2 separate regions of the Homo sapiens genome follow, and region 2 is linked to region 1. The links are contacts of gene promoters, found by promoter capture Hi-C in blood cells and fetal thymus (Javierre and others, 2016). All regions are on one chromosome and are shown on one strand. Each heading gives the region's core, a stretch centred on a gene start or on the middle of the fragment in contact. The rest is flanking DNA. Distances are from core to core; before and after follow the strand shown. Region 1 holds the start of PPIB (peptidylprolyl isomerase B). Region 2 overlaps ZNF609 (zinc finger protein 609).

The links. Contacts are between HindIII fragments. The CHiCAGO score rates a contact against its expected background, and 5 or more counts as called.
Region 2: a fragment that was not itself captured here is called in contact with the fragment with the promoter of PPIB in region 1 in 2 of 17 cell types (megakaryocytes and erythroblasts); the score reaches 5.2 in megakaryocytes.

What each region holds. Positions count from the first base shown.
Region 1 is chr15:64,160,649-64,165,599 of GRCh38, forward strand. It overlaps PPIB (peptidylprolyl isomerase B), which reads right to left and starts at 2,374. Exons shown (of 5, transcript NM_000942.5): 1 at 2,204-2,374; 2 at 1,393-1,506. The coding sequence starts at 2,338. CSNK1G1 (casein kinase 1 gamma 1) reads right to left here. Exons shown (of 12, transcript NM_022048.5): 12 at 4,877-4,951. RefSeq lists enhancers at 933-1,497, 1,731-2,231, 2,039-2,288, 2,232-2,732, 2,839-2,888 and a silencer at 2,339-2,698. The HindIII fragment of the contact is 3,002 bases long and covers 1-2,773 here.
Region 2 is chr15:64,680,578-64,685,752 of GRCh38, forward strand. It overlaps ZNF609 (zinc finger protein 609), which reads left to right. Exons shown (of 10, transcript NM_015042.2): 8 at 69-285; 9 at 732-810; 10 at 1,115-5,175. The coding sequence ends at 805. Among named protein-coding and RNA genes, the nearest start is that of OAZ2, 20 kb to the right of the region's middle. RefSeq lists an enhancer at 4,965-5,175. The HindIII fragment of the contact is 1,840 bases long and covers 2,476-4,315 here.

The DNA of each region.
Region 1 (4,951 bases), core at 1,124-3,623:
TATTATTATTTTTTTGAGACAGAGTTTCTCTCTTGTCACCCAGGCTGGAGTGCAATGGCACAATCTCCGCTCACTGCAGCCTCCACCTCCCAGGTTCAAGCGATTCTCCAGCCTCAGCCTCCTGAGTAGCTGGGATTACAGGCATGTGCCACCACAATGCCCAGCTGATTTCTGTATTTTTAGTAGAGATGGGGTTTCACCATGGTGCCCAGGCTGCTCTCAAACTCCTAAACTCACATGATCTGCCCTCCTCCGCCTCCCAAAGTGCTGGGATTACAGGTGTGAGCCACCATGCCCAGCCTGTTTTTTTATTTTTTATTTTTATTTTTGAGATGGAGTTTCCCTCTTGTTGCCCAGGCTAGAGTGCAGTGGGGCAATCTCGGCTCACTGCAACCTCCACCTCCTGGGTTCAACAAATTCTCCTGCCTCAGCCTCCCAAGTAGCTGGAATTACAGGCGCCTACCACTACACCTGGCTAATTTTTTGTATTTTTAGTAGAGACAGGATTTCGCCATGTTGGCCAGGCTGGTCTCGAACTCCTGACCTCAGGTGATCTACCCGCCTCAGCCTCCCAAAGTGCTGGGACTACAGGCATGAGTTACTGCGCCCGGCCTTTTATTTTTAATTAATTTATTTTTTTTTTGAGACAGGGTCTCACTCTATTGCTCAGGCTGGAGTGCAGTGGCATGAACATGGCTCACTGCAACCTCCATTTCACTTCAGCCTCCTGAGTAGCTGTAGCTGGGACCACAGGTGCACCCCGTCACACCCAGCTAATTAAAAAAAATTTTTTTTGGCCGGGCATAGTGGCTCACACCTCTAATCCCAGCACTTTGGGAGGCCAAGGCAGGCGGATCACCAGAGGTCAGGAGTTCGAGTTCAGCCTGGCCAACATGGTGAAACCCTGTCACTACTAAAAATACAAAATTAGCCAAGCGTGGTGGCGCATGCCTGTAATCCCAGCTACTCAGGAGGCTGAGGCAGGAGAATCACTTAAACCCGGGAGGCGGAGGTTGCAGTGAGCTGAGGCCGCACCACTGCACTCCAGCCCAGGCGACAAGAGTGAAACTCCGTCTCAAAAAAAAAAAAAAATTTGCGGGGGTAGAGACAGGGTCTTGCTATGTTGCTCAGGTTGGCCTTGAACTCCTGGGCTCAAGCAATCCTCCTACTTTGGCCTCCAAAAGTGCTGGGATTTTAAGTGTGAGCCACTGTGCCTGGTCAGGGCCCCATTACTCTTAAGAAAGGGCAATACTGTGTTCCCAGGGCAACAGGCAGTCGGTGCTCAGTGAGGTCCACGCTACAGATCGGCTGAACTCTGCAGGTCAGTTTGCTGCCATCCCCAGTGCCAATTTCACTTCATGTGAGTTGACTACCCCTGCTCCAGCCACTTACCTCTCCTGTAGCTAAGGCCACAAAATTATCCACTGTTTTTGGAACAGTCTTTCCGAAGAGACCAAAGATCACCCGGCCTACATCTTCATCTCCAATTCGTAGGTCAAAATACACCTGAGGAAAGAGACCATTTCCAACTTAGCTTCTTTAAAGGGGCGTTGCTAGGGGAGGGAAGGTACAAGAAGCTAACCTGAGGATGGGAGAGAGAATAGAGCCATATTTTTAGAGAAGTGGTTCTGAATCTGATTTTGGTGACGGTAAAAATCCTATGAGAATCTAATGAAAGCTCCAGACCCTTTTCTTGGAAAACATGCTTATCTATACCCTCCTTGGACTACAGGATAACAATATTTGCTCTAAACAGCTAATGGACCCAGATTCTAAAAATTAACATTAGAAAACCCATAAGGAGCGGAGCCTAAGTTCACCACTTAAGTTTGAAGTATACATACTGTGCTTTGTAATTGGAAGTGGCTAAAATTTGGCTTAAGGAGAGAAAGGATTCGGAATCCGGCAGGCGTGATCTTTCACCATCTCCCCAGCACTGAGGGGTGTTTGCAAAAAGCCTGCTCTGAGACTGCCAGTGTCGGCCCCAGATGGGTATCCGGGGATCCAACTAACTCCCTGGGTCAGGGCAGGGGCTGGGGGTGTCGGGGTGGGTCCGGGTCGTTCCCTGGACTGAATGGGCAGGACGGCCCAGACGCCACGAGGCCACAGACAGAAGCCGAGGGAGGAGGGGCTGAGCCAAGGCCAAGCCAAGGCCGCCCGGGCCCGAGCTCCGGCACCGTAAATGCCGCGGACTCCACCGGACCTTGACGGTGACTTTGGGCCCCTTCTTCTTCTCATCGGCCGCAGAAGGTCCCGGCAGCAGCAGGAAGAAGACGGACCCCGCGATGAGGGCGGCGGCAAGGAGCACCTTCATGTTGCGTTCGGAGAGGCGCAGCATCCACAGGCGGAGGCGAAAGCAGCCCGGACAGCTGAGGCCGGAAGAGGGTGGGGCCGCGGTGGCTAGGGAGCCGGCGCCGCCACGCGCGGGTGGGGGGGACTGGGGTTGCTCGCGGGCTCCGGGCGGGCGGCGGGCGCCGTTTCCCCCCTCCGGCTCGGCGCCGGATAGTAGGTCCCCCTGCGGGGCGGGCACCGACGCGGGCTCGTGGGTGGTTGCCACGTTATTGCTCCCTCATTGGGCTCCCGGCCGCCCTCTCCCGCCCACAGGAAGGCCACCGGCGGAAGGCGGCCTCGCAGAGCACGGGCCCGGGCTCCGAGAAGACCACAAGCCCCGGCATGCTCCGCGGCCCGCCCCGCCCGGAGCGCTGTTCCACTGGCCTGCGGTAGCTGGCGCTTGAGGTTAGCAAATACGTGGGCCTGGACAAGGGGCACGGGAAGCTTGTCACTGTTTTGGGCCAGTCAAGTGTTTGTCACCGCCAAATTGGCTCTAAACGTTGTGGCTTCCAAACACTTCAGGGACATTTATCCTTACCGAGCGTGGCCTTGTACGGCTCCTCCACTTGTCTTGCAAAACTTGCTGCACAACCCACTTCCTTTTTTACTGAGGCCGTCAAGTTACTACCCATTTTTCTCTCCCTTCTGTAATCTTGCTGTGCTTACTGTTGTGTATATCAATGGACATCTTATTGTATACGCTGTTCTTAACTTCCTTTACCTTTTCCCCCAATAGACTACATTTTTTTTTTTTTCTGCGGAAGGGACTGTGTTGCATTTACTCTGTCCACAGCTCCCTCACAGCGCGGCAGTACTGAGTGCCCAACAAGTCCTGGTTGGGATAGCTTCACATCCGCACTGACATGAGAAATAATTTATGCCACGGCCTGAGGATACAATGCCTTTTTCCGGAGGTCAGGAATAGTTACTAGATGTCCCCACAGGGCTATTTTAGGTCTTCACACACTTAGTGTTGTCCCAATCTACAACATAGATACTTTGGTACTGGGAGTCTTACACACCAAAACAAACCAAAACACAAACTTCCAAAATTTGGACCTATGGCGTTAAAACGTCTTTAAAACTAATTTTCAACGATTAACTTCGTAGAAATTCCAGGTCGTCACAGCACAGATTATAGGCAGGGCTCCATTTACATAAATTATGCAATGTAGTCTTCATGAGGCGCTGACCTGAGACTGAAGTTATGCAAGGCCACTGGCATTAACTTTGTTGTTCATTACAGCGGCCTTACACAGGTTGTAGAGCTTCAAGACAGTTCTCTTATTTCCCATCCTTGCACCTCAATTCAGACAACCCCAATCAGGAGGAAGTTTTAAACATTGTTATACTGACAAAGATGATCTTCCAGATCCATCTCTCATCCCTTTTTTTTTTTTTTCTCCTATTTTGTTAAGCCTCTTTCTTCACTCACTGGTCTCAGGCTGCCATAGCCAGAGAAAAATGTTTACTAAATCATGTTTTCAAAGTAGCCTCCAGCTGGGCACAGTAGCTCATACCTGTAATCCCAGCACTTTGAGAGGCTGTGGCAGGCAGATGACTTGAGTCCAGGAGTTTGAGCCTGGGCAACATGGTGAAACCTGTCTCTACAAAAAATACAAAAATTAGCAGGGCGTGGTGGTGCGCATCTGTAGTCGCAGCTACCCCAGAGGCTGAGGTGGGGGAATCACCTGAGCCCAGAAGGTCAAGGCTGCAGTGTACTGTGATCGTGAAACTGCACTCCACCCTGTCTCAAAAACAAAGAAACACTCAAAAAACCCAAGTAGCCTCCTGCACATGAGGAGCTAAGGCTAAAATGGCATCACAGCAGCCTTTCTCCCACTCCCACTTTCAAAAGAAATCAGGTTGATGGATAAAATGCTCTCAATGTGAAACTTTTCTCTCATGATTCTTCCACTGCTACCTGCCTGTGAAAAAGTAATTAAAGAGTAGTAACAAACTGGAAGGAGTCAATCATGCCCAGATTGACAGTTGTTCTGTTGGCTACATATGCAGTATGGTTTTACATTGCTCATCATAGTTCTATCTTCTGTCTGGACACATATTCCGCATTTGTAGAGGAGAATTATAAAGCTACTAAAGTTGTTCCACAGAGCAGATCCTGATTTCCTGTGTTCTACCACCTGAGAACAACAGGGACCCAGGAACTAACGTATGAGTGATAATGTCCAAATTCTTCCAGGAATATTTATTTATTTGAGACGGAGTCTTGCTCTGACGTCCATGCTGGAGTACAGTGGTGCGATCTTGGCTCATTGCAAACTCCACCTCCTGGATTCAAGCAATTGGCCTGCCTCAGCCTCCTGAGTAGCTGGGATTACAGGTGTGCACCACCACGCCCAACTAATTTTGTATTTTTAGTAGTGACAGGGTTTCACCATGTTGGCCAGGCTGGCCTCGAACTCCTGACCTCAAATGATCCACCCGCCTTGGCCTCCCGGAGTTGCTGGGATTACAGGTGAGAGCCACTGCGCCTGGCCAATATTTATTTTTTTAATTAAAAAATAATTTTCTTCTTCAGCACTCGAAGAGAGACAGCAGTATTTATTTTTGAAGTGACTCACAGGAGAAGACAATATTTAATCCAAGGAATGAAACA
Region 2 (5,175 bases), core at 2,146-4,645, 520 kb after region 1:
TGTGTGTGTGTGGTTGTATGCATATGTGTCTCACTATAGTGCTTTTGTGTCTCTGGTTTCCTTTCCAGATAAGTGATAAAACTTCTCAGGAGAGAGATCGAGGAGGCTGTGGGGTGGTTGGGGGTGGTGGCAGCTGTAGCAGCGTCGGGGGAGCAAGTGGGGGTGAACGGAGTGTTGACCGGCCCCGCACCTCTCCTTCCCAGCGCCTGATGTCCACACACCACCACCACCACCACTTGGGGTACTCATTGCTCCCAGCACAGTACAACTTACCCTATGCAGCAGGTAAGCCTGTTTTCCCTACCACCTGTTGTTTTGTCTTGTTTTGTTTTGTTTATCTTCATCCCAGTAGTAATGTCCACAGCTAGGACCCTCCTACCTGCCTCATAAGAATCCTTTTTTAATTTTTTTTTTTTGAGCTTCTAATCTGTGCACAGTCCTAACCTCCTGCAGTCATTAAAGCATATGATATTTATTCCTCCCTTGGAGTTTGGGGACTCTTAAATTCCTCCAGAATACTGGCCTTGATAGTCAGAAGAATATGGAACAGGTGTTCCCCAAAGGCAAAGAGAAACAATCAGCTGAGAAATAGAGCCTTATTATCTATCTCCAGCAAATATATCTGGCTGAGTATCAGATTTTTTTTTCTGTCAGCACCCCAAAACTCAGGGAAAAAGATTAATGGAAGGTTTCTGTGAGTGCTACACTAACATGTTCTCCTGCTTATTCAGGGCTTTCTTCTACAGCCATTGTTGCCAGCCAACAAGGCTCAACTCCCTCACTCTACCCACCCCCCAGGAGGTGAGAATGGTAAGTCACTTTTATTAATTTGGGGCAACACATAAAGCCGGGATAGTTGCTACCTGGATCACAGAATCCCTAGGTGAGAAATAGCTATGAGGGGTCAGCAGTCTGGAATCCATGGAACCCTGGCCAAGCCTCTTGTACAAGAGTCTCCCGTGAAGCCATGTGCATCTGAGAGGACCTGTGGAACACAGTGTCCCCTAGGGACCAGTACTGGCCACTCCTACAATTCATTTTCTTGGAGTGCCACCTTGTGGTTTTTTTACCAACAGGCTGAGTGCCTGGTTATCTGTCCATGTTTCCCTTGCAGACACCAAGTGCCCGGATAAAGTCAGCTTCACGGGCCCGGACTGGCTTACCCAAGGAGGTGCTGAAGGTGCCGTTTAGACATCAGTTAAATGGTGTTGATCATCCTGTTTGCCGTTTCCACCATGACTGAAGGCAGACCCTTGGCTATCTCACCTCCACCAGACCTCCGGACTACCTGACCCTACCTCTTCCTCAGGAGCTGGAGAGCTGGTACTTAGCAAAAATATTTATTCTCTCAGCCACAGTTATGACTATTGTGGCCTCTGTGGAGATGAAGGCACGGGAAGCAACCAGGGGAACATGGCCTCAGCCCAGAGAAGCCACTGCTCTGTTCCCCAAGCCCTTGGTCTGCTGCTGGAGCAGTACCAGCCCCCCCGCCCACCAGGGAGGGACCCCCACCCCCAAGCACTGGGTAAGGTCTGAAGACAGCACAGCAGCCATACCCCTCACCATCATTACCACCATCACCAGATTCTGCATCTCCCTAGTGCTTTGCACCCTGGGAATTGGCAGCATGTGGAGGAACTAGAATCTCAGGAAAGAAATTGGGGGTTGTTTTCTACATAATTGTGAAAACAAGGTCTTCAAATGTGGAGACTTCTCCCCATTTACATGAGCACATATAAACGCTCACAACCTAGCCTGGAAAGGAAGACCAAGGCATCTGCCCCAACATGGCCTTGAGCTGCCTGTGAGGCAGGGGGCAGGGGTTCCAACACCAGCACAGGGCTCCCCAGGGACACTGGGAGCAAGCTGGTGCTGGAGCATGAATGACGTCTGTGAAGTAGAACCTGCGTCCCCACTAAGTCCTGCTGCTTCTTATTCCCCAACTCCTTGCCCTTTTCCCTTCCCTCCTAACCCCTTGGTGCCTTTCCCAGGGGGATCCCCACACTGGTCTTGCCTCTTCTTTTCCACTGCTTGGCTCTTAAGCCTCAGGCAGATAAACTAGTATTCCCCCCAGCTTGGGGAACCTTGGAGTCTGCCAGGTCACCTTAGGGCAAGGCCCAGAAGGCAGCCCCTGGGAGCACCCAGCAGTTCTTGGAGATGTCCTGTCATCTAGCCATCTGATATCTTCCTCATTTGAGGCCACAGATATATACAGCCCAATTCCTCTGTCTACAAGTACATGATTTTATATAGCTCAGTCTATAACCTCCATGTGGGCCAATATAAGCTGTGTTTCTTGGTAACACATATTTTGTTTGAGGGGCCACTGGCCATGGGAGGTTATTTGTTCCTTAGACCCTGGAATAACACATCCAAGCCATTACTTATTAGAGTCTCAGAATGTACTCAGTGGAGCTGTGCTTTGAGGCAGCCAACATTTCTCTGCTCTCCTTAGAAATGCAGTCTCCCAATGGAAGCTTTATACTCTTTGTACTGGGAAAGTGAGGATGATTTGGTAGCTTTATTGGGGTCATGTCTTCCCCAAGGTGTGGGGAGCTTAGCTTACTTGGCTTTTGAGGTATCATCCCTCTGTTCTCCCCTCCTATCTTTCCATGACCCTCTGGATTGAGAGAGAGAGATAAAGACTGACAGACACCAGTGTAGGCTGGAAAAGGGAGTGTGTGACCAGAGTGCCAAAAGTGACTAGGAGCAGGAACTTGGCTCCGACTCAGTTTGGAAAATGGGAAATAGGGGACAGTAAGCACAATGCCCAGTAGTAGTTGATTTCCAAGGACCCTGGAACCCTACACTTGAGAGGCTTAGGGTCACCATCTGCTCAAGAGGATCCCCTCTGATCTACAGGCCTTTTCCCTAGGTTTCTGCCTCCTCGTTTTTGTTCAAGTTGGGTTCTGAGTCCTCCCCAAAAACCATTGTTTTAGACCTCTTGGCAGGGCCCCAAAACAGCCTCCCTCATACCCATCATTCCCTCTGCCTTCTGCTGCCCTCATGGGCAGTGCTCTGAGCAGTGACCTCCCTTTCCTCCGTGGAAGTAGCTAGTGCAGACACCGTCATCCCACCCCACCTGAGTCACCCCAACCAAGAGGGTGACTGAATTTCAGCCTGATTATGCCCTCCTGGGGCTCCTGTGAGGTGGAGCCAAGGTTCCCTCTCTGTTCCTGTTTGTTTTTAAATATTGTTGTGTGTTTTGTATCTGTGGCACTGGCCTGCAGCATACTCTGTATATATTGTAAAGAAACCGTTAGGAGTAATTTTCTTTTGCATTGGGCAGGCATGGCCCTGCATTCCTGCCCTTTCCACTCATTCTGTAACACAGAGGACGAACTTCTGTATTAGCTGGGCAGCCTTGGGTTCTCCAGAAGAGAACAGGTTTTTCTTTTCCTTTTTAATTTTTCTTCTTAAACATTTGGCTCTTTGATCCTCATATCCAAGTCTCCCCTGAAGAGTAGGAGCTGCTCAGAAGAGCAGGTGAAAGCCACCATGGCAGATCCTGATGCCTGCCGGGCCTAGTCTTCCCTCTGAAATAACATGAAGCAGCAGCTGTGGAGATTCTTGACAAGTGCTGAGTGAAAGATTTGCTGCCCACCTCTACATGGGGAGGAGAAACACAGGTGGGAGCTACCTGTGGCATCCATGACCTAGTCAGAGGGATGAGATGCTCAGCAGGGGTCCCCATCCTATCCCACCCCACAAACAAAGGCTGGAAAAATTTGCTACCAAGGGCCAAGACCACCAGACCAAGCCTGTTTATGAGCCACCCCTGCCCAGGCCCTCACAGACATTGCTCACGGGGCTTCCCATAGAGGAGAAGCTAAAGAGGGAGGGGGCCTCATCCCCAGATAGATCAGGCAAGGCTTGGAGAGCTGCTCTTTAGGATCCACATCAACTACTTCCTCATTTTAAGGTATGGCAGTTCCCTTCATCCCCTTTTCCTGCCTTGTACATGTACATGTATGAAATTTCCTTCTCTTACCGAACTCTCTCCACACATCACAAGGTCAAAGAACCACACGCTTAGAAGGGTAAGAGGGCACCCTATGAAATGAAATGGTGATTTCTTGAGTCTCTTTTTTCCACGTTTAAGGGGCCATGGCAGGACTTAGAGTTGCGAGTTAAGACTGCAGAGGGCTAGAGAATTATTTCATACAGGCTTTGAGGCCACCCATGTCACTTATCCCGTATACCCTCTCACCATCCCCTTGTCTACTCTGATGCCCCCAAGATGCAACTGGGCAGCTAGTTGGCCCCATAATTCTGGGCCTTTGTTGTTTGTTTTAATTACTTGGGCATCCCAGGAAGCTTTCCAGTGATCTCCTACCATGGGCCCCCCTCCTGGGATCAAGCCCCTCCCAGGCCCTGTCCCCAGCCCCTCCTGCCCCAGCCCACCCGCTTGCCTTGGTGCTCAGCCCTCCCATTGGGAGCAGGTTGGGGCGAGCTGGAGGCCCGGGCTGGAGGGGCAGTGTTGCTGTTCATAGATTTTGTTCCATTGGCGTTGCTCTGTTGAATTTAATTTCAGTCTTCCTGATTCTTCCCTTCTGTAAAGTGTACATTACCAAGTTCCTTGTTTTTTTATATATATATATAAATATATATATATACAAACTGTACTCTTTTTGCCTTTGTACATTCAGGCAAGAAGAGAAAATAAATCTTTTTAAGAGACAATCACAAATCTGTGAGGGCTGCTGGTTATTTCTCCTGGAGTTTGCTGCTGAGCTGCCTCTTCCTTCCTCCCAATTTTCCTGTTCTCCCTCAGCTCTCCTGATCTTCCTGGCCCTGCTCCATATGCATCCTCAGCTTCACTTTCCCTGGCTGATGGCAAGCTGTTGAATCCAGTGTCCAGACTACCTGCCTTGTAACCCTTTTCTGCCCAGCATTGTTTTCTGGCTTGGCCACTGGCTTAGCCCAGGAGCTTTACTCTGTGCCCTGGCCTCCCCTCTCTTCACCTTTAGATTTCCATTCACCGAAGTGGCTTTGGACCCCTGGGTACTCTGGGACCTGTTTCCTGGAGGCCCTGGCTTGGGACACTCACCTGTGAAACTATGCAGCTGGGAGCTCTCTGCCTAAGAGTTTGCACTATTTAAACCTGCCTGGGAGTTAGGACGGATGGTTTTAGGAATGACCGGAAAACTACCCCTAAAACTCCCCCGACATTCC